Regions from separate parts of the Homo sapiens genome. Here regions 2 and 3 are each linked to region 1. Evidence: promoter capture Hi-C in 16 types of primary human blood cells and fetal thymus (Javierre and others, 2016). All regions are on one chromosome and are shown on one strand. Each heading gives the region's core, a stretch centred on a gene start or on the middle of the fragment in contact. The rest is flanking DNA. Distances are from core to core; before and after follow the strand shown.

Region 1 (2,770 bases), core at 5-2,504:
ATGATATTGACAGTCTCTAAGTTGCATTTAGTGCATTCATCCTTATGATATTTTACTAATCACTTTTGGAAGTTATGATTTATTAATTATAGCTGTGGTTCATCTCACTTCAAATTTCATTCACAATGTTGCCCACACACAGTCTGTTGATTTTTCAAGCGCTTATAGATATTAAACAGCAAGGCAGTGTTTTGAGGCGGTAAGTTAATAGAACTTGCTAGTATAAATGTACTATAGTCCACTGGAGAGTAATTTTAACTTCACTGAAGTTGGAGCGCTTTGAAAATCAGGAAAAAAAAAGTAACATTTAAATGTATGAATATAAAGGACTATAGATTTTTGTATTGCTGTAACCCTTTTTCTTTCCGAAAGTATGTGCAACTCTAAAGGCACTTAGTGCTGAATGCTATGGAGATTGGGAAACCCTTTAAAGCCTCTATTCTTTCCTGCCGAACAGCAAGACTGCTCGAATGTCAATCCATGCTTTGCTTCTACAGGGTCGCTGTAAGACTCTATGTGGGAGGTGAATACATTTATGCTACGATTTTTTTAAAATATATAAAATAAAATAGAGTTTACTTTGTGAAAATGCATGGCCACGAAGGAACAGAAGGTGATCAGCCTGCAGCCTGAGCTCCTAGTTTCACCACCGATGGGCAGAGGCGAGAGAGATGAGAGCTCTCAATGAAACGGTGATGCTATTTATAAGGCGCTGTGAGATCGCAATGTCCTGCTGATCCGGTAGGAGCCAGCTCAAAGGGGATTGTCTTCAGAGACTTTTACAAACTTGGCCCAGCTCTGGGCACATGGCTCACCCCCTAGGACCGCCTCCTCACCCCCTCGCCGGCTGCCCAGCCAGGACACTCCCCCGCGCCCTCCAGGGTTGCCTACCTGTCTGCAGCACAGCCGCGGGTCCCGTCCGGAAGGGGCAGGAGCGCTCGCGCGTGCAGCCAGGGGGCCGGCGCCAGGTCGTGGGCGTCGCCCCTCCCCTGGGCAGCGCCACACACCTGGGCGGCCAGCGGCGAATCCCGGGCAGCCGCCCTGCTCGCGGCGCTCTGCCCATCTTGCAGGGAAGTGGTCATTGTCGCCGGCCGGGGGGCTCGGGCGTCATGGGAGACTCGGCGCGTGGGGAGAAGGGGTTTGCGCGGCGGGAGGCGAGGTGCCGGCTAGGCAGCCCGAGCGCTCTGCAGGTGTGGTGGCCTCGCCGCCTGCGCTCGGGGCCCCGGCGGCTGAGACGCGCGGCCGAGCTATCTGCGAGGCGGCGGGGGAGGGGAGGGGGCGGAGGAGGAGGGTGGGGAGAGGGGAGGAGCGGCCGGTGGGTGGGGGCCGCGGGCGGCGAGGCAAGGCGCGGAGGGGGCGGGGAGGGCGCGAGAGCGGCTGGCCGGCCCCGCGCGTGGCCCGGGGCGCTCGGGGCCACTGGCATTGCTCCCGCGCCGTCCCATCCGGGACGCGAGGCCGGGACCGCTGCCTCCTCAGGTGGGCACCGGGGCGCGAGGCTGAGCCCAGGGTCTGGGCGGCCCCGGCGCCGCTGGAGGCGGGGACCCAGCCGAGCGGGCGCTCCCGCTGGGCTTGCCGGGAGGACCGCAGGCGGGATAGGGGTCCGCGCAGCCCTGACCCTCATACCCTTGCATTCTTTCTGCTCTGCCATCTGAGATCACCTAAGCTGTTGCTGGGCCGCCATGACAGTCCCCACCGGGCCAGGAGGCCAGGACACCAGAGGGTTTGCCCCAGTCCTTCCCCACGTGCCTCTTCTTCCATCCACTCCGCAGCCAAAGATTGGGGGGTTGATAGGGAGCAAGGAGTCCAATCATTATAGAAAACTACTGAGATTTTGAGAATTCTCAGTAAAGCATGAGTAAACCTGAAGGTGTCTGGAATTAGAAAGACTATTAGTTTTATGGTAATGAGAGAAGCTTACATTAATGAATTCCAGGTTGCCTTACGCTACCTATTCCATCCTCTCAACAGCTCCATAAATTAGATGTTTATCTCATTTTACACAAAAGGAAACTGGGGCTCAAAGCCATCGAGTACCTTGCACTAGTAACATAGCACTAGTAGCTGGTGGAGTCAATATTCCAACCCAGAAGCTTCCTTCTCAAAAACCCAGACTGTTCGAAATAGTAATGACATTATTATGCTCACCCTCTGAGATGCAGCAACCCTACTCTGAAATGCTGGGTGATCCTGTTTCTGCTCTTCCAGTAAGTGTGCCCGTCCCTATGCACCGTTGAGGATTTCCAAATGTTTCACAGGGTCTTTGTTCTTTGACCAAATTAGGTAATATCTGTCCCTGGCATCTGCTTTACCAGGTTTTCTTAATTTCAACAACCTCTGCCCAGGGAAAGGTAAACACTGCCTCCAGAAGAAAGCAGCAGCTCCCCTCCCCCATCTCAGTGCATTCTCTCCCACCGAGGCACCGACCACTGGAGAACCCAGGGGTCACTAATTCCCAACCTGTGAGGAAACCTGGGGCACTCCGTGAAGACAGAAAATCCTTGAGTCACAGTTCAGGGAATCCAAGTTCTTTATTTTCCTAATGTCAAAATTAAGGCCCAGAAGTGACCTGGGTCACAGCGGGTGTGATCTCTGGGATCTTTTATACCAGGGGTCCCCAACCCCTGGGCCCTGGACCACACCATACCAGTCCATGGACTGTGAGAAACCAGGCCGCACAGCAGGAGGTGAGCGGCTGGTGAACCAGCATTACCGCAAGAGCTCTGTCCCCTGTCAGATCAGCTGGGCATTAGATTCTCATAAGAGAGCGAAC
Region 2 (2,790 bases), core at 236-2,735, 1.5 Mb before region 1:
CCCTCATGAAGTGTTTCTTATCTCAAAGATATTATTTTTAAGTGTTCAAATACATGATATTTTATATTGCTTTTGATTCTTACTTCATTTTTCACAGAATACATAGTCATAGGGGAATGGCTCACCCATACTACTCTGGTGACCTTTAATATATTCACTAGGCAAAAGCTCGAAATACAGTTTATCTGAATCTTGGCAGCACATCTTATGGTATCACCAGACTTGAGAGTGTGGGAGACCCCTAAGGAGCTGCTGTGAGGCCATCTCCCACTTACCTCTTTATCTGCCATGGAAGGCTATTGTAAGAATGTTTCATCACATCCTGGATCTGATGAGTTAGGGGCTTTCTGCTCCACCTTCTTCAGAATAGAACTGCAGAATATAAAGCCCTTTCACTGCAATCTAGATTTGGCTCCTAAACAAAATGGCAGTCACTCAGCCCCTAAAAGTGGATCTTCGCAGCTTTACCAGTTGAAATTGTCAGGCCTTGTCTTGTCTTTTGTATGTGTGTGTGTGTGTGTGAACCTCTATCATATTCTTTTAAATTTAATATTTAGTATAAATCAATTTTGTCATATTTTGTGTATGCATCAAAGTAATATATAATCTAAAGTCTATAAAAATTAATTTTAGCTTATTATGCTTAAATGCACTTTAATCTTCCATATATTTGCTTATGTCTGTGTCATCAGTCTTAGCATGAGATGGAGTATATCAAAATCCCCCACTGTATTTGTTGATTTCTATGTTTCTGCTAGATGTTCTATCAAATTTTGCTTTATATATTTTTGGAGCAAAATATTATTTATATTTACCTTAAATTTTTAGATATTGTTGACACACCTTTTTTCTTATACCAGTATATCATGCTTTTTTGTTTTTTATCAAAAATATTTCTTTCTTTTGGTTACTATTTTTTTGTTATATCTTTTCCTTGATTTTAGGATAAACAAATTTATCAAAGGAATATGTGTATTTGTTTAGTAATATGAAAAAGATTATTTTATTTCCTGATTTCCTTCTATCCCTAACTTCCATTTTCATGAGACAAATACTTTGAACTGTTTCAGCTATTTCTTCTGGTATTTACTTTCAAATTTCTATACAACCAATTTATTCTGGTATTTCTTATAGGTAGACAAGAATTTAGTTCTCCCACAAAACCTCCAAGACCTCTCCTCCACCAAACATACAAACACATAAATTTGCTAAGTGTCTACATTGACTTCCTAAAATTTTCAATTTGCATTGTGTAATTTCACCTACATTTTAATAATTATGTAACTAACATCTAAAATAAGAATTTGGATGTTGTTACATTCCTTTTTACACACTTTATTTATTCTTGAATTAACATGTGCTTTATTTTTCTGCGTGACTGAGACAACCCCAAATTTTCTCAGAAAGTATTAAAAGTCTCATCTGAATACATACAAATATACCCTTTTTAAATTTATTAGATTTTCTTCTTGGAGTCTTGCCCTCTAGAACGAGATGCTGTTTGAGCAGCTTTCTTCGAAGTCCCCACTTCATCATCTTCCTTGAAAGTGACTTTTCATCTCTCCCTTCTCTTGCATTAAGTTTTGTATTTCTGTATTTATCCTTCTAAGTGATCTGATAATCTATTACTGCAAAACAAACCATTTCTAAACATAGTGGATTGAAATAAATATTTCTTTTTTTTCCCTATTTTGAAGGTCAAGTATTAAGGAAGGGCTTTACTACGACATTTGTCTGTGGTGTACCCAGTGCCAACCGAAATAGCTTGGGCTTAATGTTCTACATCCAAAATGGTTTCTTCACTCATATATTCATTACTGCAATGTCCCTTGGCCTTTCCTACATTCCACATAGTTTGCCATTCTCCATTGTCTTTCCCTGTAGCTTGGTCTCCTCATAGCATGGTGGTCTGAGCACTTCTCACATGACAGATGGTTTCTGAAGTGGCAGCTGCCAGACCAGTTAAAGGTCATTCATGGAGCTTTCATGCTTCACTTATATAATATTTTATTAGTCAAAGCAGTCACAGAGCTTGTCAGATTGAAGTGGGTATAGAAATAGACTCTGACTCTTGATGAAGGAGTGGGAAGTTCGTATTGCAGAGAGCACATAAAATAGAAAATACTTTGATGACCTGCTTTGGAAAATTTGCCATACATAGTTTATTTCTTCATTTTATGGAGCACAGTATCATCTAGTGACTTCTAAGTAAAGGCATATTGAAAGTAAAAATTTTGAGAACTTTCTTAATTTCAAAATTACTTTTTCCTAATGTTTGCTAATTTAGCTAGGTATAGAAGGGTAGATTGAGCATCATTTACTCTTAATGTTTTAAAGACATTGCTTTATTATTTTTTAGATTTTCTGGGCTGCTCTCTGGATGTCCAGTGCCAATGATTTCTGATGGTTTTGTGTAATTTTTCTCTTCCATATAGCTTTTGATTTTTTCTCCCTTTTGTTCTAATTTTCATGATGATCTGTCTTAATGTGCTTCTATTTTTATTCATTGACCTAGATCATTTATTGTTCTGTTTATCTTGGAAACACATATTTCTTAGTTCTAGGATATGTTATTAATTCTTTCATAACTTTCTCCCCAGACTTTAAAAAGTAATTTTATGGAAGGAAAAGACTTAAAAAAGTAAAAAAGTCATAAGAATGTAGCTTGCTTGATAGATTTTTACAAAATTAACATGCCTATGTAACCAGTATCCAGATCAAGAAACAGTGCATTGTTAGCATGCCAAAACCCCTTTGCAACTCCTTCCAATCATTAAACCCCAGACAGTA
Region 3 (2,895 bases), core at 113-2,612, 1.5 Mb before region 1:
TTTAGAGAAATTTAAAGGAGTTACCTTAGTAACCGCTGTAATGTACATATTCTGCTGGGATTTTGTTAGTCTGACTTTTTATAGTAATGCAATGTTAACAGAGCACGAGAATAAAGGCACACTTTTTTATAGAGCAAACTTGCAATCTAGGTCAAACATACGTTTCTCAGAGAAGTATTCCCTTGTGACCTCAGTTTTTCCTTGATCATTATTTACTTTTTTAATAACTCCAAACAAATTTGTCTTTTTTAAATGAAGAAGATGGTATGTAGAAAGATGATAGGATAATAGAGGGGATGTAAATTAGAGTTTTTGGTAAATGCTAAGGGTAAAACAACAAATTAAGAAATAATGTGCAATGATAAGATTCATACTTACAAATCACGTGACTCTCCGCAGAAAAATAAAGTTCAAATTCTTGTGAAATTATAACTCAGGTCCTGAGATTAATTGATAGTGATCAAAAAGCAAAATAAGGGAAAGGAGGAGTTAGTCATATTTTAGCCATTTGTAAGCATTTTACAATATAATATGTAACATATTGTATATACATAGTATATCTAATTATACATACACAATATCACCTACAATAATGCTTCAAGAAGAGAAAATATTGTTAACTGTAGTTTTGGCCGATAAAGTTCATGCCATTTTAAGTACAAAGTTGGTGATCATATGTCAATAGTTATGCTATTTGAAGAGCTAAGACCTCATTTATCTACTACTGTTGGGAAACACAGTATTCTTTATCAACAAATTTTAAAATTGAAGTTTCGATAACTGAGTGCCAAAGTGTGTGTGTGTGTGTGTGTGTGTGTGTGAGAGAGAGAGAGAGAGAGAGTATTCAGTGGGCATTTTGTAAATACACATATTCTTGCATTGGTCTAAAGTCTTCAGTGCTGCCCCTGATAGAACATTAAGAGTCAGAAAAAAACAGGCCTATAAAGAGAAATTATTCCCAGGACCCATCCCTACTGCTAGTTACCTGAACCCTCTTTCTAAGAATGGTAAAAGCTTTGATAAAAGAAAGCATTACAACTAATAACATAATTATATATGCATACATAATTCTGATAATGAGACGGCCTGGTGGGAAGGGGTCCCCAGAGAAAGTCCAACTAGCCTGTGTACTGGGAGGAGTGCACACTGGGGTGAAGCCACAGGAGTTCATGCCATTTGCAGTGGAGGAGGAACATGGTTCCTCTTCTTCCTGGGTAGAACCTGGAATTCAACCTGCCGGGTGGGAAGCACACTAGCAGGACCCTGGCTTTGCAGAGGGTCCCTGTTTGCTTTTTTTTTTTTCTTTTTGCCCAATAAATTCCATTATTCTCACCCTTCAAATTGTCTGTGAGCCTAATCTCTGATGGCCATTTGACAAGAACCCAGCTCCTAACTGAACTAAGGAAAAAGTCCTACAATATCTTTGGCACCCAACTTGGGGCTTAGAAGGGGCGACTGAAATGGGAACTCAAGACCTTTCACTGTCACTTCTAAGCCTTTTAATCCTCGGACTTCTGAGGGTAGAGGAAACCATACCTCCACCCCTGTCACTCCCAGGATCAGGGGCTTTTCCATGGCCTTTTTCTTCTAGTTTCAGGCTCGATGGGTGAGCGACGGTTCCTCACTCCCCTTCCACTCCCGGCTGGGGGTGGGGAATGTCACGTGTCCATGCCTTTCCTCAGCCAAGGGTTCAACTTCATTGGACAGTAATTAAGCTTTTCTCCCTGGTGGAGGAATCAGTTGTGTAAGAATAAGACATTGATTCCCCAGGCATCCTTTTCCCTACAACATCAGCAGGTAACTTTTAGTTTCTTTTCCATTTGGAAGGCGTTTTACTAGGCTAGAAGTGATAAGGATCACTGTTTATATTCTCTGTAAAGTTTTAATTATGAAAAAGGATTTGTGAGGTTGACCTTAAGCTGTAGCCAATCTAGTGTGCTTTGCATGTCTGTATGGTTCATAGCAAACTTCTCTGCAGGCCTCCATCTTATTTAACATCCTGGGGGCATGGCCTGTAACTCCGTGGCAAGGCTTTGCTTAGCAATCCTGCCTTAGGGAATGAGTTCCTTTCTGGCTTGATATCTGCATGTTTTCCTAGTCCTGTATCTTAAAGCACACCACCAGTGGAATGGGTTTTCTCCTGCCTGTGTGTGTAGTTATATGTGTGTGTGTGATGTCTGTAAAAAGAACTCTAATTAACTTGGCCTAAAGAAAGACAAGCACTTGGATCAAATATTTTTTAAAGGGAAGATAAAAGCCGTTGTACCTTTCAGTTCATGTGACTTTAATTTTTGAGGAATAAAAACAGCCTTAAAGATTATTGGCAAAAGGCAGATGTCATCAAAGTGTAAATAAGGTGACTAAATTATGCAGGTTATATGTAAGGTTTGCTAAGTACTTTGAGGTTATAAACTGCTTTTTGGATTTTGAGAAGTATTTAACTTGCTAGCTTCACAGTTGGTAAGGCCAGGGTACATATGGGACACACACGCCCTTAATTATGCTGGGAGTCAAACCATGGCTGCACCTCCCACACAATTAAAACAATTTACCAGGTTTTAAATTAAAGTTAATAATTACTAGGAGTTGCCATTATAACATGTAATTGAGACTACTGGAAATACTTACATGCAAGTTGTGTAAGAACAGTAAAATGTGGGGGGTTTTTTGGTAAAAGATTATAAGAATGCACAGAAATGTAATTTTCTGCCTAAGGTTAAAGGATTATTTTAAATTAGGATAAAGCTGAAGGTTTAAACAAGTGGTGGAAGGACTGTGGAAATTAATTTTGTAGAAGAGGTTCTCTGTGTGAACAATTAACTCACAAAGGTATTACATGGGTTTTCTGTAAATTAAGCATTAAAATGTAAAACACAATAAGGTATTCTTAAGGTG

What was found. Contacts are between HindIII fragments. The CHiCAGO score rates a contact against its expected background, and 5 or more counts as called.
Region 2: a fragment that was not itself captured here is called in contact with the fragment with the promoter of GRB14 in region 1 in 3 of 17 cell types (M2 macrophages, M0 macrophages and endothelial precursors); the score reaches 9.5 in M2 macrophages.
Region 3: a fragment that was not itself captured here is called in contact with the fragment with the promoter of GRB14 in region 1 in 1 of 17 cell types (M1 macrophages); the score reaches 5.8 in M1 macrophages.

What each region holds. Positions count from the first base shown.
Region 1 is chr2:164,620,228-164,622,997 of GRCh38, forward strand. GRB14 (growth factor receptor bound protein 14) reads right to left here and starts at 1,255. Exons shown (of 14, transcript NM_004490.3): 1 at 892-1,255. The coding sequence starts at 1,082. The HindIII fragment of the contact is 9,303 bases long and covers 1-1,911 here.
Region 2 is chr2:163,163,194-163,165,983 of GRCh38, forward strand. No RefSeq gene overlaps it. Among named protein-coding and RNA genes, the nearest start is that of KCNH7, 330 kb to the left of the region's middle. The HindIII fragment of the contact is 7,154 bases long and covers 1-2,790 here.
Region 3 is chr2:163,142,445-163,145,339 of GRCh38, forward strand. No RefSeq gene overlaps it. Among named protein-coding and RNA genes, the nearest start is that of KCNH7, 310 kb to the left of the region's middle. The HindIII fragment of the contact is 701 bases long and covers 1,013-1,713 here.